Regions from separate parts of the Homo sapiens genome. Here regions 1, 2, 3, 5, 6 and 7 are each linked to region 4. Evidence: promoter capture Hi-C in 16 types of primary human blood cells and fetal thymus (Javierre and others, 2016). All regions are on one chromosome and are shown on one strand. Each heading gives the region's core, a stretch centred on a gene start or on the middle of the fragment in contact. The rest is flanking DNA. Distances are from core to core; before and after follow the strand shown. Region 1 overlaps ATP6V1H (ATPase H+ transporting V1 subunit H). Region 2 overlaps ATP6V1H (ATPase H+ transporting V1 subunit H). Region 3 overlaps ATP6V1H (ATPase H+ transporting V1 subunit H). Region 4 holds the start of MRPL15 (mitochondrial ribosomal protein L15). Region 5 overlaps LOC105375841 (a long non-coding RNA gene). Region 6 has its middle 9.5 kb from the start of ATP6V1H. Region 7 overlaps LOC100129098.

Region 1 (2,918 bases), core at 87-2,586, 310 kb before region 4:
AAGGTTACAGGGAACCAGGCACTCACACCCTGCTGATGAAAATGCAAAATGGAATGTCTGGCAATATCTTAACAAAAAAAACTACATATGGAGTTACCTCTTATCCAGCAATCCCATTTCTAAGAATTTACCATGAAATATACACCCAACAACACAAAAATATATTTGCACAAGGTTATTCTTTGCTTCATGATTTCTAATTCTAAAATTTGGAACCAACCACAATGTCCATCATTACATCAGAGGCTGAGTGAACTATGGTACATCCACTAATGGGGTACCATGTAGCTGTCAAAAACAGAACAGGGAGATGAGATCTCTATGAACTGACACGTAATGATTTCTGGCATATTCTGTTAAGTGAAACAAGCAAAAAATAAGAGATTATATCTAATAAGTGTTTTATAGAAATAAGAGGGGGAAATAAAAAAATATACATGTGTCTGCCTGTCTATGTTCACAGAAAAAAAAAATTAAAAACCAATGATATTGGGCTGAGCGCAGTGGCTCACACTTGTAATCCCAGCACTTTGGGAGGCCGAGGCAGGCAGATCACTTAAGGTCAGGAGTTCAAGACCACCTTCGCCAACATGGTAAAACCCCGTCTCTACTAAAAAAAAAAATATAAAAATTAGCCAGGAATGATGCCGGGTGCCTGTATCCCAGTTACTCTGGAGGCAGAGGCAGGAGAATTGCTTGAACCCAGGAGGCAGAGGTTGCGGTGAGCGGGGGTTGCACCACTGCACTCCAGCCTGGAGGACAGAACGGAATTCTGTCTCAAAAAAAAAAAAAACTATGATATTGGTCACCTACGAGAGGGAGGTGGGAATGGGCTAGGATTAGTGACATTTCTCTGAGTATACCTTTCTGCATAGTTTTGACTTTTGGAAACATGTTAATGTTTTACATACTCAAAAATAAAATGCAGGCTGGGCATGGTGGCTCACTCCTGTAATCCCAGCACTTTGGGAGGCCGAGGTGGGCAGATCACCTAAGGTCAGGAGTTTTGAGACCAGCCTGGCCAACATGGTGAAACCTCGTCTCTACTAAAAACACAAAAATTAGCCAGGCATGGTGACAGGCACCTGTAATCCCAGTTTCTCGGGAGGCTGAGGCAGGAGAATCACTTGAACCCAGGGGGCAGAGGTTGCAGCGAGCCGAGATCACGCCACTACACTCCAGCATGGGTAACAGAGCAAGATCCTGTCTCAAAAAAATAAATAAAATAAAAATAATAATAATGAAATGCACAAGGATGAGGAAAAAACTAAAATAGAATACAACAGAAACAAATGACTCTTACAGTATTTCATGAAAAATAATCACTCTGAAACTTGAACACAGTATTCTGACTATATACCCTGAGTTTAAAACAAAAAACTGCAAACAAATACTGAACTCCAGGTAAAAGACTTGTTTTTTGTGTGTATGTGTTTTTTTCAACTCGTATTTTAGGTTCAGGGGTACATGTGCCGGTGTGTTATATTGGTAAACTCATGTCAAGGGGGTATGTTGTACAGATTATTTCATAATCCAGGTACTAAGCCTAGTACCCAATAGTTATTTTTTTCTGATCCTCTCTCTCCCCCCACCCTCCACCCTTGAGTAGACCCCAGCTTCTGCAGTTCCCCTCTTTGTGTCCATGTGTTCTCATCATTTAGCTCCCACTTATAATTGAAAACATGTGGTATTTGGTGTTCAGTTCCTGTGTTAGTTTACTAAGGATAAAGACCTCCAGCTCCATCCATGTTCCTGCAAAGGACATGCTCTCATTCTGTTTTATGGCCGTATAGTATTCCATGGAGTATATGTACGTTTTCTTTATCCAATCTGCCATTGATGGGCATTTAGATTGATTCCATGTCTTTGCTAATGTGAATGGCGCTGCAACGAACAAACACGTGTGTGTGGTCTTTACAGTAGGACGATTTCTATTCCTTTGAGTATCTACCCAACAATGGGATTGCTGGGTCAAATGGTAGTTCTGTTTTTAGCTCTTTGAAGAATCACCACACTGCTTTCCTCGATAATTGAGTTGTATGGGTCCACAACTCTGAAACTATTTTCTGTGTATTTTAGGGTAGAACAAACAAGTAAACACACTGAGGATAAGAGGAACTCACAATCTCACTGTTACAGAAGAGGTACACATACGGAAAGGAGAGACAAAGAACCCTGTGGTGCTGCGCTGAAATGTAATGGGAGCTACCAGCATGTCATGGTGTTAATTTATAGATATGAGCATATGGACAGTAATTAAGGATATGAGCAACCACGGTCCGCATGCCGACTCACAGCTCCCTCATTCTAGGTACAGTCCCATACAGTAACAAGATAACCATGGCAGATCATAACATTCACATTTTTCTAAACTTTACTGTTTTACATGAAAAAGTGCTCAGAGAGACTGAGGTCATTCTCAAGACAGTCCTGATATTGATCCTTCCTCACATTATAAAATCACTAGATTCCTATAAAGGACATGATGACCCCTAGGAAGACAGCACCATTCTGCCCAACCTTTGTATTATCAATAATAGTACAGTGCTTGGTGAAAATTAGGCCATCAATAAATGTTTTTTTCCTTATAAGTTAATAGAACAACCCTCCCTAAACACCCAGACTGACTCTTTCCTTCAAGTCTCCTGAGACACTCAGCAGCTGGAAGGCCGATCTCATAAGAACTGCTCTACATACCAACCATCTAAGCCTAGATTATACTCTAGTGTAAAATACATAAATATGAATAAAGGAGGCCTCTCCTTTATTCATAATTGGGTTCAGGGATGGTAACGCAGTAAACAGAAACTGTATGCAACTGGAAACGTTTTCGATGATAAGCAAAACTGTTCCCAAAAGGAACAAAAGCACCGAACCTCCAGGGCCCGGCACTGGCCTAGAACATATGAGCACTGAAA
Region 2 (3,079 bases), core at 148-2,647, 420 kb before region 4:
ATGACAGTAAGACGTGGTTCTCTCCCTAAAGCACCAATGTCAAGGACCAACTTCTAAATGTAAGTTTCCAAAAATGACTAATAAGAATGTATGGGAAAGCCTCCAGGAGCTCAGGCAGGGAACTGGTAAGTTATCACAAAGGGTCCTGTGCGTCTGGTCACAGACAGGCTCCCACCTGCTCCATCCCTTCCAGAGGCCTGAGGGTAGTTCATTCCCCATATCAGACTTCACTAATACTTAGCAGACAACAAGTGGTGAAGATAATTGATTTCTTCACAAAAGAAACACTCTTGAAGTGGGGCCAAAGTAGGACAGTAAAACCTAGCACAGGTGCGCTGTTCCAGCAGAGAACGTAAAGACACATGCAGCCACAGCTTCCACCCTACCATCTTCCATTCATTTTTTTCTTCCTGGTCAAAGATATAAATTACAGGTAACATCCTCTCCTACACAATTTTTTTTTTTTTTTTTTTTTTGAGACAGGGTTTTGCTCCATTGCCCAGGCTGGAGTGCAGTGGTGCAGTCACAGCTCACTGCAGCCTTGACCTCCCTGGGTTCAAGCCATCCTCCCACCCCAGCCTCTTGAGAAGCTGGAACTACAGGTGCTCACCACCATGCCTGGCTAATTTTTGTATATTTTGTACAGACAGGGTTTCGTCATGTTGTCCAGGCTGGACGCTAACTCCTGGGCTTTAGTGATATGCCTGCCTCAGCCCCTAAAGTGCTGGGGTTACAGGCGTGAGCCACCATACCCGGCCAGGCTCACTCTCGTTTATTCGTACATACAAGGTAGCCCGGAGGCATCTACTTCTTCCTGACCTAAGTACGTGACACATAGAAAAATCAGCACCTCCTTTCTTCTGCCTAGTTGACAGTTCATGTAATTTGGATTTGGGGGAAGAACAAGGACTCATATAGATGAAAAAGGGTCCAACTAAGAACCTGCACATCAGGGGCCCCAGGTGGAACTTTGTGAGCCTGGTTTGAGTATTGTAGGTCAAAATGCCAAAAGCCCAGCAAGAGAAGAGCCCAGACAGGATTCATGGAAAGAAGAATACAATTTCCTCCTCAAGCTTTCTTGAAATTGTTGTTTGTTATGGCATGTGGGGTGTTAGATGGCTTTCTAACATACCAGGAGGAACTGAACTGTGGCTCCACTGAAAAGGGTATTAAAAACACCTAACCTATACGAACTTTGGGGAAAATCCACTCCTTCGAACTTGGCTTTTATGTATTTTATTCTATTTTTATTTTTTTAGAGACTGAGTCTCACTTTATTGCCCAGGCTGGAGTGCAATGGTGTGATCTCAGCTCACTGCAATCTCCACCTCCCAGATTCAAGTGATTCTCCTGCCTTGGCCCCCCGAGTAGCTGGGATTACAGGCACGCACCACCACGCTCGGCTAATTTTTGTATTTTCAGTAGAGATGGGGTTCTGCCATGTTGGCCAGGCTGGTCTCGAACTCCTGACCTCGTGATCTGCCTGCCTTGGCCTCCCAAAGTGCTAGGATCACTGCACCTGGCCAGCTTATAAAATACTATAGCTTGCTCCCCTGAATGTCGAATGACATTATGTAGTCAATGAAAACATTCCCAAGACTGGGGGACACAAGCCTGCCTCTGAATCCTCTGTGCCAGGCACAGGGGGTCCTGCCATCGAGGGCCTGAAGCTGGGAACACAGGATGGCTGTTGCCATCTGGACCGCGTTCCGAGCCACCATGGAAGCTTTATCACAGGTATGCCCACACATTCTCCCCTCTCATTTTAGAGCACCCTGTGAGCTGGGTATTATTAATATCTTCTCCCTTTTACAAAAGAGGAAACAGGGCCTCAGAAAACTTCATTAACTTGCCCAAGAGCTAAGTGAGCAAAGCGCCTACTCAGGGCTCTGGTCCTATTCTATTCCAGAGCTGCCTGGCTTCCAGTAAGAGCTCAGAAAGGTGCAGAAGGCAGACACTTCCTTTTTCATAAATTAGAAAACAACAAGTGGGTGTGAAAAATTTCTTCAGGTTAAAATTACACTACTGTCAGGCAAAAGCAAAAACTAGTATAGATTTTACCTCAGGGGATAATAATATATCTAGAACAAAGGATGCAAGGAGATCTTTTGTGAATTAATCTGGGTATTGAGTCATCCTCAATACATGAAGATCAATACAATAAAATTTCAACTTATAATTCAGTCAAAAGGTGCCTGACTTATACAAGCAATCTATAGGAATGTGACATTAAATCTTTGCTTCTGCCACCTAAGATGCAAAATTTGTGAGGTGCAATATTTTTCTTCTCTTTAACTTCATCCACACCTGAAATCTCCTGGGATCTCAACATCTCTGAAACTGAAAAAAGGGCAGTCTGAAAACCTACTCCCCTTTTTAAAAACCCAAGTACATAAACGGCTCACAAAAGAGATCATACTGCTGCAAAAGAGTTTACATCTGATGAAGAAACACTGAAAAACTGACTTCCACTTCCCACAAGGCACAAGGTGCCTGAGGCTTGACAGGGGCATTCTGAAGGTGACTGACTATCTAGCTTCTATTCTGCTAGGAGCTAGGGCACCAGGAAGCACTTACTTAGCTATAGTAACTCTTCAAACAACAGGAAGACCATTACCCATTCTAATCAAATGCCTTACCTTCACAGTGTATTTAGTTGCTTAAAGACTCAAACATTACAAATGTTTCTTTAAAACTATAATTGAAGACACTGACTATAATAGTGTTTCAACATGCTAACTTTACCTATATAACTTGACACATGGTAACTTCAGCTGTGTAACTTAGTGATAGGAAAAAAGTGATTTTCTACTGACAAATATATTAATCAATGAAAACTACTAAGTCTCTTTTATTTTCCTTTTTTGGCCTTGCCTGTCCACAAAGCCAAGTAGAAAACCCACTGTTAGCAGCATTTTTGTACTGTTTTCTCTAGTCTTCCTTTAGTGTGCAAATTTTTCATAACTAAAATCATAATGTTCTTGGAATTCTATAGCCTACTTCTGTGGGTTTGTCATAACGATCATTAAAACTACAACTGAGTCATAATTACGTTTCTTAATCTTTACCTATCCTGTTG
Region 3 (2,860 bases), core at 189-2,688, 320 kb before region 4:
CGGCTAATGATATGACCTACATTGAACAGGGAGTGTAAATATTCAAGGAGATGTAAATGTAAAATGAGTAAGCGTCAGGCACATAGTTAAGTGCTCAATGAATATTAGCTGCTATATTAAGATTCCCCTATGGAAATATAAGAATCAAAGGAAGGGCTGACACCCTACTCTCAACACATGGAGGTCTGCTTTTCAAGTAGACAGCCATCTAAAAAAGTAAGAACTTCAGGAAGAGTCCAAAAATATGTTCAGGGTTGAGAGTCACTAAAGGGAAGAAGGTAGGAAACCAAAGGCCATCTTTTCCTAACTCACAATCACTCCTGATGTGAATTCCATTTGGGATGTATATGAATCTACCAGGTAAATCACTTAGACCAACACACCACCAATTCAGTTAATTTTGTTTTTCTAATACACTGCACAGAAAATAGCAAAATAAGGATGTCATGTCAGCAGAGTTTGCATTTCCTTATTTAAGCTTTAATAACTTAAAATACTTTGACAACCACTTAAATAAGTTTGTAAGTCTAAAATAAGCTAAATAATTTTTCAAACTGGTAGAAATTCAAGACACATGAAATGAAGACTCTCAATTTAAGCAAAATAAAGATTCTCAATGTAAACATCTGCTTCTGATTGAGAAACGAGGCTTCTTACCTACCATTTCCTCAGCCCACCATGGCCCCAGGATCGCGTATCTAGTTCTATACCTTGTTCTGATTCCACTTCAGAAGGCTAATAGCCATTTTCTGGCCTAACATATGAGTCATCAAACACTTCAACCCATGCTCCAAGAGAAGCCCAGCTTCAAAATGGATTTTGCTGCCATCTATGGTCTTGGAACATACATACCCGTGACATTCATTCAGATTATGGGAGTACCAGCAACCAATATGGATATTAAATGGCTCCTACAGAGCTTCACTTGGGTCTATTGCAGGCAGGTTACAGAAACTACCCTCTAAAGATACTTCCTAGTTTCCTAGTGATACTTTCAACAAAGGAAGCTAGACACACTTCTGTTTCTGTCTCCGTTTTCCCTAACTTTCTATCAACTGGCTCTCATCATGAACATCGTTAACTTGTCCAAACTTACTTCCAGTTCCTGAGCTATTCCTAGAGCACAGCAAAGTTCAGCCATTCCCAAATGGAAAACGTAACTTTAGCCAAGAAAGGAACTTGGGGAGCCATAATTAATCTTAATTATGTAGATTATTTATGTATTTATGTAGAGCCTTTTGGCTCTACAAAAATGTGGAAAGAAGGCCTGGCGTGGTGGCTCATGCCTGTAATCCCAGCACTTTGGGAGGCCAAGGCAGGCGGATCACGAGGTCAAGAGATCGACACCATTCTGGCCAACTTGGTGAAACCTCATCTCTACTAAAAATACAAAAATTAGCTGGGTGTGGTGGCGGGCGCTTGTAGTCCCAGCTACTCGGGAGGCTGAGGCAGGAGAATTAATTGAACCTGGGAGGCAGAGGTTGCAGTGAGCTGAGATTGTGCCACTGCACTCCAGCCTGGGGGATAGAGCTAGACTGTGTCTCAAAAAATAAATAAATAAATAAAAGTAACTGAATTTCTTTCAAATGTTTGACGCTTTTGTTCACCTTTTGATTAGACAGATATTAGACAGTTTAATCAGATAACTGAAGTTTAAAGAGAAAACTTTATGATTATTTGCTCCAGTTGTGCTTCTGAATTCTGATTTTTGCTTTGTTTCTCAGGTCTGAAACAAAAGTCACCTGGAAAAAAGAGCAACGGGAAAGAACAAGTCTTATGTCTACCACAGAAAAGATGATCTCCACAGACCATCAATATTTATATATAGTTTATAATACAATTAACCTAACTGGAGGTGACCATGGATTTATAGTTGGGGAACTAGTAAACACCTTCAAAATTTTAAGTGTATATGACTCAAAATAATTTATTTTGGGGATGTTTAGGCCAGTGAAGGAATATACTTACATCACTTGAAGAGACTGTTCCTGTTTCAACAGCAACACCGCTACCACGCAGTTTCTATTACGAAATAAATAACTCATTATTTAGTTTTGTTTTGATTTTATCCTAATGTATCAGCTTACAAAAGGGAGCTAAGCAAACTTTTCCCCTAATTCTATGTAATAATTTTTCCCCTATAATTTTATTCCTAATCCTACTAAATAAAAAGCAAGGGGATGACATAAAATGTTCTAAATATCGTTACATTCTTCCAGATAATATATTAATCAGTAAGTAGCTAAAAATGGAACAATAATAAACTGACTACTAAGCTCCAGGTAAATTTCATGGGTAAAGCTAGTGCAAATTTCCAAGTCTTAAGATTTACTTACTGAATTGTTTTTCCAGTAAAATGACTGCCTTAAATTGAACTATCCACACTATATTCTGTAGCAAAGCTTTCAAAAATAGGTGCCTGATGTCAGGAAGGTACAATATGTGACTTGGTTATCCACAGCAAAGCTAATGAATTATAATGACAATCAAAATCTCAAATGTCATATAGAAATGACCAAAGAAAATTTAAAGAAAGTCAGAGGCTGAAAGTGCAAGAGAAAAGCAATAATGAATTTCTGAAAGGAAATGTTAACTTTGTATCATTCAATAACTACTATCTATGAAGTACAGGCATGAGTCCCCACAACCCAAGTGCAACGCTCCAAACTACCCAAAAAGGCTTCAAAGGCCACTATAAGGTCAAAGAACAAAACATCTAAACTTGCAGCTAACTTGGACTTTTGAAAGTTTATTTCTATTAGAATCATGAAATTGTGGTACTTTTTGTGAGAGAGAAAAACACTTGTGACAGAGAAAAAAGAGACACTCTAGATGTAGCACTATCGCATGACAATTGAGC
Region 4 (2,835 bases), core at 247-2,746:
ACATTCACGGGCCAGGCGCCGTGGCTCACGCCTGTAATCCCAGCACTTTGGGAGGCCGAGGCAGGGGGATCACCTGAGGCCAGGAGTTGGAGACCAGCCTGGCCAACATGGCGAAAACCCGTCTCTACTAAACATACAAAAAAAAATTAGCGGGGCGTGCTGGTGAACGCCTGTAATCCCAGCTACTCAGGAGGCGGAGGCGGAAGAATTGCTTGAACCAGAGAGGCAGAGGTTGCAGTGAGCTGAGATTGAACCATTGCACTCTAGCCTAAGCAACAGAGCGAGACTCTGTCTCAAAATAATAATAATAATAATTCACTTTTGGAAACTGTTCCCTACTAGATTTCAAACAACTTGGGAATGAAATCCTATTTGAGTTCATCCATGTGTATTTCCAACAAGTTCAGTGTCTTACTTATAAATAGTACTTGAAGGAATGAATACAACTTTTTCTTTATGTAGTTATTTTACACTTGATTTAAAGGAACTTTAAAAAGACGCAGTTATACCTAGAGACAGACGCCCTCCAAAAATTGTCTCACCTTCATTATTTGTGATTACTAGTTAGAGCTAGCAGAAAAAACTCCCCAGCAAGTGAAATGTCAAACCACTACTAAAAGAAAGAAAAAGAAAGGAACAGTCTTTTCTATATTTAAGTCACTTGAGAGAAAAAAGAAGAGCTGGTATTTTTCGAGTAATAATGTTCGTATTTTGTGATGCAGATACTCAATTTTACATTCTAAAAATACTACTTTTATAGTAGGAAGCAGTGTACGTTTGAATCCTGGCTCTGCCGCTTGTTGCAAGAAGTTGGTCAAGCTATCGGACCTTGCTAAGCCTTCCCTGTTGTAACTGTAAAATGTAGTAACACCATTTACCTCTAGAATGGCTGTAAATCGAGTAAGGCTTATTTAATACAGCGTCTGGCATACACCAGGCATTCAGTATGGCGCCAGTCATTAACAATAGGTGGTTACTAACTGCGATTCACTCAAAACAATACAGATGCACACGGATGAGAGTTCACACTTTGAGTCTTATTCAAAGATTGGTTATTAGCCAGGCATTTTGATAGGTGCACTCAGTTTTATTTTCGTACCTCACGGTGTATAATTACGCAAGCTCAAAAGCTAATAATTGACAGCTCACTTTGCTTTACTCTGGGTTCTGCATTGACCTCAGAGAAGACACGGCCTAGACAAACAGGCAAGGCCCAACACTGACTCAAAAAAGATCCTTTATTTAACGCAGTGTTTTTAGTGCATGCTCTCGTTTGGCGAAAGAGAAGGTTTTACGTTCAGAATATTAAAAGGGACCCCGAGGACAAAGCAGGATCTCGGAAAATAAGATCACATCCCCAAACAACTAAAAGGACAACCGAGACAAGGTTGCAGACTCCCACGCCTCTGCCCGACTCCCGGGCTTGCGCGCGCGGCTGCAGCGCGACAGGGGCGGGGCCACGGCCACAAAGCAGCCCCCGAGACCACGTGGCCTCCGAGCAGCTCAGGGCGCCCTTGAAAGTTCTTGGATCTGCGGGTTATGGCCGGTCCCTTGCAGGGCGGTGGGGCCCGGGCCCTGGACCTACTCCGGGGCCTGCCGCGTGTGAGCCTGGCCAACTTAAAGCCGAATCCCGGCTCCAAGAAACCGGTAAATGGGTGGTGGCGGTGCGGGGAAGCGCTGGGGACCCGGGCGATGAAAGCGGCCCTTCTCTCCCTGTCATTAGGAGAACTGCCCTTTCTAGGAGAGTGTTGGGATGAAAATAGGATTGCCTCATGCCTGTTCTCCCTTACTGCCCAGAGGGGAATCTTTCCACGTGCACCCAGTTCTTTTTTTTTTTTTTTTTTTTTTTTCCGAGACGGAGGCTTGCTCTGTCGCCCAGAAGCAATTCTCCTGCCTCAGCCTCCCGATTAGCTGGGATTACAGGCGCCCGCCATCACGCCCGGCTAATTTTTGTATTTTTAGTAGAGACGTGGTTTCACCGTGTTGGCCAGGCTGGTTTTGAACTCCTGAGCTCGCGATCCGCCTGCCTCGGCCTCCCAAAGTGCTGGGATTACAGGCGTGAGCCACCGCCCCCGGCCGCACCCAGTTCTTAATAAGGTTATGTTTACAAGTGTAAAGATACCAGGCGGAGAAGCCGACTCGCTGAAACTACAAAGTCTTTGTGTCATTCAAAATTGGATTTAAAATGAAATGTTTTCCCGGTGTATCTTTATGTTCATTGGAAAGATCTGAATTGCAGCTGTCCCTTCTGCAGTTGACTAAATAGAGCTAGAAAAGCTGTTAGTTGACAATGTACTGTCATTTTAACAGTCAGTTCATTGCTTTCGTGAAATGACAGGAAATTAAGGAAAAGATTTTCTTCAACAGATCAGTTTTCAAATAAAATTACAGGTTTATGAATAACATTTGCATATTTACAATTAATTTCAGAATAAATTCTTGCCTATCATTTAAAATGTTGTGAATATTTAATTCTAGGATTTTTTTCGGTTTCAACCTATTATAAAAACCTTATCCCCATCCTAACCTTTACTTTTTGCTTTTGAAACACACTTGGACTTTGGTTACAAGAATTAGCTATGTCTTTAGAGGCAAAGATGCTAACAGAGTGTGTGGAGCTTTGAGCAACTAGGACATGCTTGACACAATAGTGTTAGCTAGCACTGGTGGGCTGGATGAATGAACAGCATAACAAAAAGTGAAGAGCTGAAATGCAGTTTTTAGAAATGCATCTGAAATTCATAAAATTCTTTTTTTTCCTTGCAGGAGAGAAGACCAAGAGGTCGGAGAAGAGGTAGAAAATGTGGCAGAGGCCATAAAGGAGAAAGGCAAAGA
Region 5 (2,700 bases), core at 32-2,531, 300 kb after region 4:
AAGCTGCAATTTTAGTTCTATATAAATAGGGTAATCCAGGGAAATCAGAAATGCAGAGTGTGTTTATAAGCACATGTGAATAATTACAATAGCAGACACACAATTTTAAATTCAAATTTGTTGTTGTTTTTTGTTGGTTTTGTTTCTTGTTTGGGAACCACAAAATAAGCCTGTCTTTCTTTGGATCTTAAAATTTATTCACAATGTTTTCATGTTTTATATTAGGAATTATCTGGTTCTACAGAAGTAGAGAATTCCATTCCTACGGGAATATCAGAAGGAGGTTAAAGTGGGCACAGGTAAATCATCCATTTGGCTATCAAAAAGTCTGATTCTGACCAGGCGCAGTGGCTCACGCCTATAATCCCACCACTTTGACAGGCCGAGGCGGGCAGATGACCTGATGTCAGGAGTCGAGACCAGCCTGGCCAAGATGGTGAAGCCCCGTCTCTACTAAAAATACAAAAATTAGCTGGGCGTGGAGGCGGGCACCTGTAATCCCAGCTACTTGGGAGGCTGAGGCAGGAGAATCACTTGAATCCGGGAGGCGGAGGTTGCAGTGAGAGGAGATTGCGCCACTGCACTCCAGCCCGGGCGACAGAGTGAGACTCCGTCTCAAAAAAAAAAAAAAAAAAAAAAAAAAAAAGGCTGACTCTTTTTTCTGGTCCCAAATAAAAATGACTAACTTCTTCAAAATATAGGGTAATAAAATACCCTGAAATGAGTAAAAGTTATTCATTCTGACTATAATACACTTTGTTTTGGTAGAAAAAAAATCTTCATAAATTTAAAAACTGAATAATAAGCCCTTGGTTAATCATTTAACATTAGAACTCCTATTTTCTCTTCTAGCAAATGTTTCCAAACAGAAAAACGACCACAATCAATTTTAGAAAACATGTTTCCCCTTTGAGGAAGGAAGGACAAATAAGATGTTTAAACTGCAGTTGGTAAAATCATTTGCTAACCCTCTGCGTGGTAATGATGCCACATCACCTGCACTTTGCTGTCTTGATCCATGCTGAAGTGATATGTTCTTGGACCCAAGCAGAACTCTCTAGCGATTTGCATGTTTTGTCATATTGTCACAGACACTCATGGTTAAATAAAAACAATCTGGTTAGTATAAAGCTCAATTTGCAGAGAAATAACTATTCTCTGTGTCAGAGTCCACAGGCACCAGAAGAAAACATTTTCACACAGAACATGGCTATGTGCCTTTTAAATCCATTTGCAAAATTGTTTCATTTCTTATGTAAAAAGGTGGAATATTGACTACTGATAAAAATTTCCTCCTACACAAATATTTTTCAGGTTCATCCAATCCCACCCTTACTCAATATAGTGGAACATGAAGCTAAATTCATCTGGAATACTTCACTAACTCCCAAAATGAACAAGGGAGTGGAAAGTTGATAAAAAATACTAGCCCATACATAATCAGGGAAACAAGGGTTGTATGTTAAGTGGATTTTCTTCCATCCGTGTGATTACCTGAATGTCATTTTTAACTTGGGTAACTTAAGGTAAACTTATCTCTCTAAGTTCATCAATATTCCTGCACAAACCTTCATTGCCATTTAATTTTAATAAAACTGAGAAAGAGAGAGTGAAAACTCATGTTACCCATTCCAGGCAGGAAGATGGGAAGAAAGGAAGCATGCCATTCAGAATTCTGAATTGATTTGTACAATGTCTTAGGCAAAAGCTCTTCCAGAAATATCTATGAATTCACGTTGAACATAAGACACAAAATTACAGATAAAGGTTAAAATCAAACTTGTCAGATGTTAACATTATCCTGACTACTCATAAATTGATTCATTTATGTGCTAGAACATTTTTCTACTACCCACCCTGGAGGAGGAGAGAATCCATTTACTGGGAATGTGGAATGTGCTTCGTCCGGGAGGGGAGGGGAAAGAAAGAATCTTGACTGGTGCTATGTAAAGTGGCTGCACCTTTCAACCAGTTTTCAATTTCAAACAAGACTTTTAATATCTATGTCTTTTGATTGTTTCTGACTTTTAATTTTTGAAATAACTGCTTTATTAAGATATAATTTAGATACCAATTTCCTCATCTAACGTGTACAGTTCACTGATTTCTTGGTATATTCAGACTTGTGTAATCATCACCATAATCAAGTTTATAACATTTTCATCACCCCAAAAAGAACCACACACCTTTTAGCCATCACCCCTCAACGCTTTTTTTTATCCTTTAGCCCTAAGCAACTCATAAGTCTACAGATTTGCCTATTTTGAACATTTCATATAAATGGAATCAGGCAATTTGTGGTCCTTTGTGATGGGCTTCTTTCAGTTAGCATAATGTTTTTAAGGTTTCGTGTTTAAATAATTTTTTAAAATTTGGGAATCTTTTCAAATTTACAAAAGAGTGGCTAAAAAACATTGTACGGAAAACCTCCATTTATCCCTTATCTAGATTCATGGTATTGTTAATCATGTTTCTAAAGGTTTTTAATGTCTGTTGTTATAGCAATAAAACATTCAAAATGGTTATATTTATAAAAGAGTGGTCTGCAAATGCTTATAAATAATTTGGATTGTCATTTGGAACATTCTGAAAATGACATGGAACTCAGGGCTATGAAAATCCACTGGTAGATGTGTAGTTGATGTAGGCAGATTGAATTTCCATATGTGCCTGGCATTATTAACCATACAGTCATACAGT
Region 6 (2,988 bases), core at 68-2,567, 280 kb before region 4:
ATGAAGTATAGTGTTAGAAGCCAATTCTTGGCTTACTCATTGGGTACCTAGTCATCTCATAAGAAAATCAATTTAACTTACTCCACATGATGTATGTAAAAAGAATAATAATTCTTGAGTTTAAGTTTGGGTATGAGTTTTGCATATGTTACTAGCTACAAAGATGACTGCTATTAAGATGACCTTTTAAGAAACCTGGAAAGATTAAGCCAACCATCTGCCTGTCAATTGCATAGCCCAAGATTGTCAAGTACTATTGGCTATCACACACCACTAACACAAGAATTTTTGCCAAACAATCTATTTAATTTATCACTATATGCTAAGCTGTATATCACTTGGATCATTTCTTTCCATTTTGATTTAGGATTACATTTTAATTAAGAATACATTTCTGCCTTTAGAGGGCACTCATAACATACAGTACCTAGACATTCAAAATAAGCAGCTCTACCAGGAATAGAACATGAAAGATCTGTGGATAAGCTGCTGATCCACAAAGCAGGTAATCCTTTTGCTTTCATTAGTATAACTTTTGGAGAAGTCTCCCCACAGATTCAGAGCCAGCCCAGCATTAACCAAACAAAGAGAAGCAGAGTGGATCCTGTGCTAATATTGGGAAAACCAGGCAACAGGACTCATTTGGGGCCTTTATTGTGAAAACATGCCCCAGCTTTCCCAAGATAACCAAGAGTGCCTCCAGAAACATTTCTCCAGGCCGTCTATATGGACACAGTTTCTGCCCCTGTTCAGGGCTCAGAGATATAATACAGACATTCACCAAATCACAGAAAATGAAGGAGACCTCAGGGCTGTTCCTGATATCAAGGTAAGGTGATTTCCACAATCCATGATCCTTTCCCGTCAAGGGAAAGTGTTTACCCAGAAAGAATATAAAACTATACTCAAGCTTTAGTGCCATTGCTCACTTATCTTAATGTTTTATCAAAAATGTTTTCAAACCATCCCCAAGGGAAATCTAGAACCTAGATGATAATTACCTGATCTATCTAGTTTTCTCCAATCTAAACAGATTCCCTTTACCAAAATAAATTATTATGTATTGCTTTTTTGTTTGTTTGCTTGTTTCAGGTGATAACATTCAACAAATCTAGACAGATTTTGTGGCTATTAGTGTTAGCCCTAGGATATCTTTCTCCGATATAAATATTACATCCCATATAATAATGAAAGAAAAATTATAGACCGCTTTCTACAAAAAATTCCTTGGGAAAAAATTGATAAACTAAGAACATAAGAACATTAAGGAGCTGAGGGGTGTTTTTTCCAAATTCAAAGTTTCCAAAGGTGAATTTCCTAAGCATGAGTTTCTATCAGTAGGTAATAACATTATTTCTCCAAAAAGTGACAATTTTCCTGCTGGATGTTGTGTGTATATTTGAAAAAAATACAGTTTGAGTCTGTAAATCCTCTTAGCTATTAATAGAACCATCTCATAAAAGGTTACTTGGCATAGAATATGGACATGTGTTAATGTCTAACAAGCAATGAGCACACTCAAAATTAAATGCTGCAAAACTATAAAACTGTTCAAATACTTTAACACCAGAAAATTCACCTGTTCTTTTGCCGCGGCTCATATCCTGATATCATTATTTATTTGCAAATTCTTTACAAAATTCTCTAGGTCTGCCCTTTCTCCTAATGTTATTTTAACCATTTGGCACAAGTGGAGGGGAAAAAAAAAATAAAAAGGGTCAACACAAAGCTTTTTCTGTAAAAATATACGGACCTGTTCTTTTGAGCTTTCAGACATATGTGAACAAATAACACATGAATTCCCACACCGCCTATTATCATCTAAGCACTAAGAGTTTAGCAAGCTGCAATGAAATGGGATGTAGTGTCCAAGAGTCCTGAATTAATGGACATCTTAATGTAGGCGACACATGCAAAAGATATTTCTAAAAGGCAGAATGTGGAGGCTACTTTGAGGAAACAGAGAGCAACAACAACAAATATACCCATTGTATGGTGCATATGTATGCTGTTGTATATGTGTGTATGTATATGCACCCACACACACATATATATAATTTCAAAGTTCTAACTATCTTGAGAAGGTATGCTCTAAGTGGAATCAAAGACAAATAAAATGCAAAAATATTTAAGAATCAGTATTACACCTTCCCATGGCATCCTGGAATCGACCACACATGCTGGTGCTGGGCAGCCTAACTTCTATCCTAACCTCACTAACCTGTTAACAGGTTCCAGTCTGTACAGCAGCAGGTGAGGGTAGAAGGAAGCAATCCAGTTGGGATGCTACTGGCTCCTTCACTCAGTTTTTGCCTTTTGAAAAAATCTTTTTATATTGCATTTGAATACAGAAAGAGGAGACATGTGCCTCATCTAGCAAATGTAAGGATGGAAACACTCAACTCATTTTGAGTCTGCAGATACCATTGAATCCTTACTAACTGCAAAACCTTGGGCTAGGAGCCATAGGGAATAAAGAGAAAGAGCAAGATATGCTCCCTCCTTTCTAGAGACTTACTGTGTATTGAGAAAGACAAACATATAGCATATTATCAGCATGACTCATGTCAATAACATAAGATACCTACATAATTATTGTATATTCTTTCAATCAGTAAGATATTAGGGGAGGAATATGATCACTATGGGGTAAGACAATTGAAGAAGCCCAGTGTTAGAGTGAAAGCAGTGAAATCTAAGGTAGACGTGAAATAATGTCTAAGAACATATATAGAGGCAGAAAGAGGGAACGTGAGCTAAAATGTATCTAGACGTCAAGGGGTCAGTCAGAAATTCTCCAAAAATCCTCAACCTAAGCTTTGCAGTTCATGCAAAAATTACCCCCAAATATAACATGGGCTTAAATTTACAACTACACGGAGAACTATAGAACTTTTAGGAAAAAAATGGGAGAAAATCTTTATGAGGTAGGGCTAGGTGAAGAATACACAGACACCAAAAAATCATGATCCGTTCAAGAAAAAAAAT
Region 7 (3,067 bases), core at 527-3,026, 330 kb after region 4:
TCTTAATACACAAGAACTCCCATCCTGCATGAAAATCTTAAGATCTTTATAAAAGGGACAGTTAATTGGGACATACTGAATGCGATATCAAGTTTGCCAACATTTATCTTTCTGTTAGCCCCTCCTCCCACCAGTATGGTTTCTGAAGTCCTGAATCGATTTCCATACCGTTTACTTTTTGAGAACTGAACAGGGTCTGAATTCTTGAGGAGGAATAAGCAGAGTGTAATGGGGAAAAAGGCAAATTAAGAAAAGATTCTGGCTTCCAGTAGTTCCAGGTAATACTGAAACGCGATCCGCAGGCTTTTAAATCCCTCAGTCCTCAGAAGTTATTTCTGTGAACTGATGGATATGGACGGACTGATAGAAGAAAATTAGTAGACACCAGCAAAATGGAAGGAGCAATTTTATAGCTGCCCCCTATATAGTGGATTTTTCTGCTTTTTAAAATAAATATTTGTTTGGACGTTTGAATACAATAGTAAGGATCAGAGGTGCACACATGCGCACCAAGAATATTGACCTGAAAAAGCTTACTGAGATAACAGGAAGGAAAAATAGAAAATAAAAATTTAGGTTTGTAGTTTCAATAACGAGACTGTGGATATAGAAAACATTATTGTTTTATTCATTTAAAAATAATTTTAAAAATGTAAATGATGCACACGCTTACAACAACTCAAACAACATTGCAGACGGGCTTGTAATATAAACAGAGTTGTCAGAAGTTTCCATCTCTCCCCAGCCCCAGTGCCACAGGTCAGAATCAATTCCTTTTTTCTTCCCCCTACTGGGCATTACCTACATTAATAATTCTGCTTGTCTAGTGGTTAATTAATTAATGTACCTGCATGGCTAATTTTAGGCTTATGAGTTTTAGACATTTACTTTCTGCTACGACAGCTAAGAATTTCCTGCCCGCTCTTCCTCGGAATATAGTTACATCCTTATTTCCACTTCTGTTAATTGTCTTTTAAAGTCCAGGACTACATACCCTTTTCTAGTTCCATCGCGAAGGCGGGAAGTCTCGATTCCTCACTGGGAAAGGTGAGGACATGGATGCCTCCACCCTTCCCTGAAGCACTCCTCTCCTCTTCTGCGGAGGTGGATTTTTAAAAACAGATTGGGGTTGGGGTGGGGGAGGGACAGCACGCAGAATATTGATGCAAACGTCATATGAAAAAAAATACATATAATATATATGTATGTATACCTGCAAAGTGCTGTTACATATACGTGTGTATATTAACAGCATTATGAATCCCAGACAATTGGGGCCGCTTACCGCCGTGGCTGTGACTTTAAATTCACTCACTTCTTACATCCACTAGGAAAAGAGGATTTGTTTCCCTAAAGCCTATAAAAGGGGAAAGGCTTAGGCGCAGTGGCAGCCCCGTTCCCCGCACCCTCCTGCCCTCGGGTCCCGGGCGGGCTGCGGGAGTTCCTCCTGCGCGGGCGTCTGAGGCGCTAGAGGTCACCGGAGCGCGCTCCCCTCGCCAGGGACCTACACTCTTCCCGCTGCTACATTAGGCCGCATTAACAAGGATCTGGATTCACTTTAATTTAAAAGGTAAAAGATCTTAGGTCTGATGGGGGAGTGCGGCGAGGAGAGCTCGGACCGCGACGTCGCGCGCCCGCTTCGAGGAGTTTTGAGCTCTTAGCTTGGTGCCGGGGCCCGCCCGGCGCTAGATGAAGTGCTCGTTTACTCGGCCTAAGCCACGGTGACTCGAAGGTGAGAATGCAACTTCGCGGTGCACCGGCTCAGGGGCCTGCCTGCCGCGCCAAGGCTTCGGAAGTTCTCAGCGGGACCGCTGGGACAGGCTTTCCTCTGAGGGAAGAGGAGGGGATTTGTGCCTCTGCACGTTCTTTCCTGTGGAGGGGAAAATCAAACCCTGTAGCCGTCCGCTGCCGGGTAGGGATCGGGCGATGCTCGGCGCCCGAGTTCTCCGCCGTTGAGGTGGAGCCCGGCGGCGGGAGCTTAGATTCTCTGTGGGCCACATGGTCTCAGAAGAGGCCCCGCGGCCCGGGGGCGCCCGCAGTGTCGCTGGACCGGCGGCAGCGCTGGCCACGCCGTGGGCTGGGACTGGCCCGGAACGCGGGTGGCGGTTCGGCCTCGGAGACCCGCGCAGCCGTCGGAGCATCTCCGTGCCTCGCTCACCACCTTCTTTTCCTCCGCGTCCGGCGGAGGGTTTCGGCGCGCGGGGCAGGCCTGGAGCGCCGTGAGCAGGCCGGATGCGGGATACGCCAGTGACTACCAGAGCCAGACCCGGAGCGCGCTGCCGGCGGTGACGGCTAGGCTGGGCCCCTGTCCTTGGGCCGAGTTGCCGAGCTCCCTCGGGGACTTGAAGGTGAAGGGCGAGGCGCCGGCCGGGGCCGCGGGCCGAGCCAAGGGCGAGTCTCGCATCCGGCGCCTTCCAGGTGGGGCGAAGGTCGAGCGCCAGAGGCTGGCGAGGGACCCCCGCCCAGCTTGACGCCCAGCTGCGCCCGACGCCGGGGGAGGCGGAGCGCGGGGAACCCGGGCGCCGGGAACCCCGGACGTGGGAGGGCTGGGCTTCTGCGCGGGGAGACGCCGGGCTTGGCGAACATCCTCAAGAACCGGTCGGTGGCTCTACCTCCGAAAACTCTTTCGTGTTTAGCGATTCTCATATTTAGTGTTTCCCTTTAGGGAGACTTGACCGGCAATTGCAGACTCGTCTTGGGAGCTGGAGATGACATTAAATAAAAAGTTCAAAACCAAATTGTTAATTATCTCCAGGTATAAACGATAACACAAAATTTTGCAGTCTTGGGAGAAAGGTTTTAATGTGCCGCCTAATTAGGCCAGGTTCTGCAAAAACGAAACAGCTCTATTCCAAGTTAAAAAGTATGCCCCTATTCCAAGTTAAAAGAAAAAAAAGTTGTATTCCTTGTTCATTTATTGAGTAAGGAATTGAGAGATGGGTGCTGAGTTATTACAGATTCTAACTGCTCGCCACACATGGAGCTAGAAATACATTTAACAGCCTTTCAGGAAAACGCCTAAAGCTTTAGAATTTCAAGCTAGCCAGGTTGCAATCTAGAGCTCTAG

The links. The method cuts DNA at HindIII sites, captures the fragments that hold promoters and counts their contacts. A CHiCAGO score of 5 or more calls a contact.
Region 1: a fragment that was not itself captured here is called in contact with the fragment with the promoter of MRPL15 in region 4 in 3 of 17 cell types (naive CD8 T cells, neutrophils and fetal thymus); the score reaches 6.8 in naive CD8 T cells.
Region 2: a contact is called between a fragment that was not itself captured here and the fragment with the promoter of MRPL15 in region 4, in 1 of 17 cell types (activated CD4 T cells). The highest score is 6.1, in activated CD4 T cells.
Region 3: a contact is called between a fragment that was not itself captured here and the fragment with the promoter of MRPL15 in region 4, in 2 of 17 cell types (naive CD8 T cells and non-activated CD4 T cells). The highest score is 6.3, in naive CD8 T cells.
Region 5: a fragment that was not itself captured here is called in contact with the fragment with the promoter of MRPL15 in region 4 in 4 of 17 cell types (M1 macrophages, M0 macrophages, M2 macrophages and 1 more); the score reaches 7.4 in M1 macrophages.
Region 6: a contact is called between a fragment that was not itself captured here and the fragment with the promoter of MRPL15 in region 4, in 13 of 17 cell types (endothelial precursors, megakaryocytes, activated CD4 T cells and 10 more). The highest score is 10.2, in endothelial precursors.
Region 7: a contact is called between a fragment that was not itself captured here and the fragment with the promoter of MRPL15 in region 4, in 2 of 17 cell types (megakaryocytes and endothelial precursors). The highest score is 7.2, in megakaryocytes.

The regions. Positions count from the first base shown.
Region 1 is chr8:53,826,173-53,829,090 of GRCh38, forward strand. The region is part of intron 4 of ATP6V1H (ATPase H+ transporting V1 subunit H); the gene reads right to left. Among named protein-coding and RNA genes, the nearest start is that of ATP6V1H, 16 kb to the right of the region's middle. The HindIII fragment of the contact is 3,324 bases long and covers 1-2,918 here.
Region 2 is chr8:53,717,931-53,721,009 of GRCh38, forward strand. All of the region lies in intron 13 of ATP6V1H (ATPase H+ transporting V1 subunit H), which reads right to left. Among named protein-coding and RNA genes, the nearest start is that of ATP6V1H, 120 kb to the right of the region's middle. The HindIII fragment of the contact is 653 bases long and covers 1,072-1,724 here.
Region 3 is chr8:53,809,196-53,812,055 of GRCh38, forward strand. ATP6V1H (ATPase H+ transporting V1 subunit H) reads right to left here. Exons shown (of 14, transcript NM_015941.4): 7 at 1,969-2,022. Among named protein-coding and RNA genes, the nearest start is that of ATP6V1H, 33 kb to the right of the region's middle. The HindIII fragment of the contact is 1,924 bases long and covers 477-2,400 here.
Region 4 is chr8:54,133,745-54,136,579 of GRCh38, forward strand. It overlaps MRPL15 (mitochondrial ribosomal protein L15), which reads left to right and starts at 1,497. Exons shown (of 5, transcript NM_014175.4): 1 at 1,497-1,647; 2 at 2,767-2,835. The coding sequence starts at 1,540. The HindIII fragment of the contact is 13,913 bases long and covers 1-2,835 here.
Region 5 is chr8:54,437,002-54,439,701 of GRCh38, forward strand. The region is part of intron 1 of LOC105375841 (a long non-coding RNA gene); the gene reads right to left. Among named protein-coding and RNA genes, the nearest start is that of SOX17, 20 kb to the right of the region's middle. The HindIII fragment of the contact is 4,847 bases long and covers 1-2,700 here.
Region 6 is chr8:53,851,236-53,854,223 of GRCh38, forward strand. It overlaps a transcript of RGS20 not described here. Among named protein-coding and RNA genes, the nearest start is that of ATP6V1H, 9.5 kb to the left of the region's middle. The HindIII fragment of the contact is 819 bases long and covers 909-1,727 here.
Region 7 is chr8:54,464,989-54,468,055 of GRCh38, forward strand. It overlaps LOC100129098, which reads right to left. Exons shown (of 2, transcript XM_041680557.1): 2 at 606-2,554. The coding sequence ends at 1,800. Among named protein-coding and RNA genes, the nearest start is that of SOX17, 8.6 kb to the left of the region's middle. The HindIII fragment of the contact is 2,492 bases long and covers 531-3,022 here.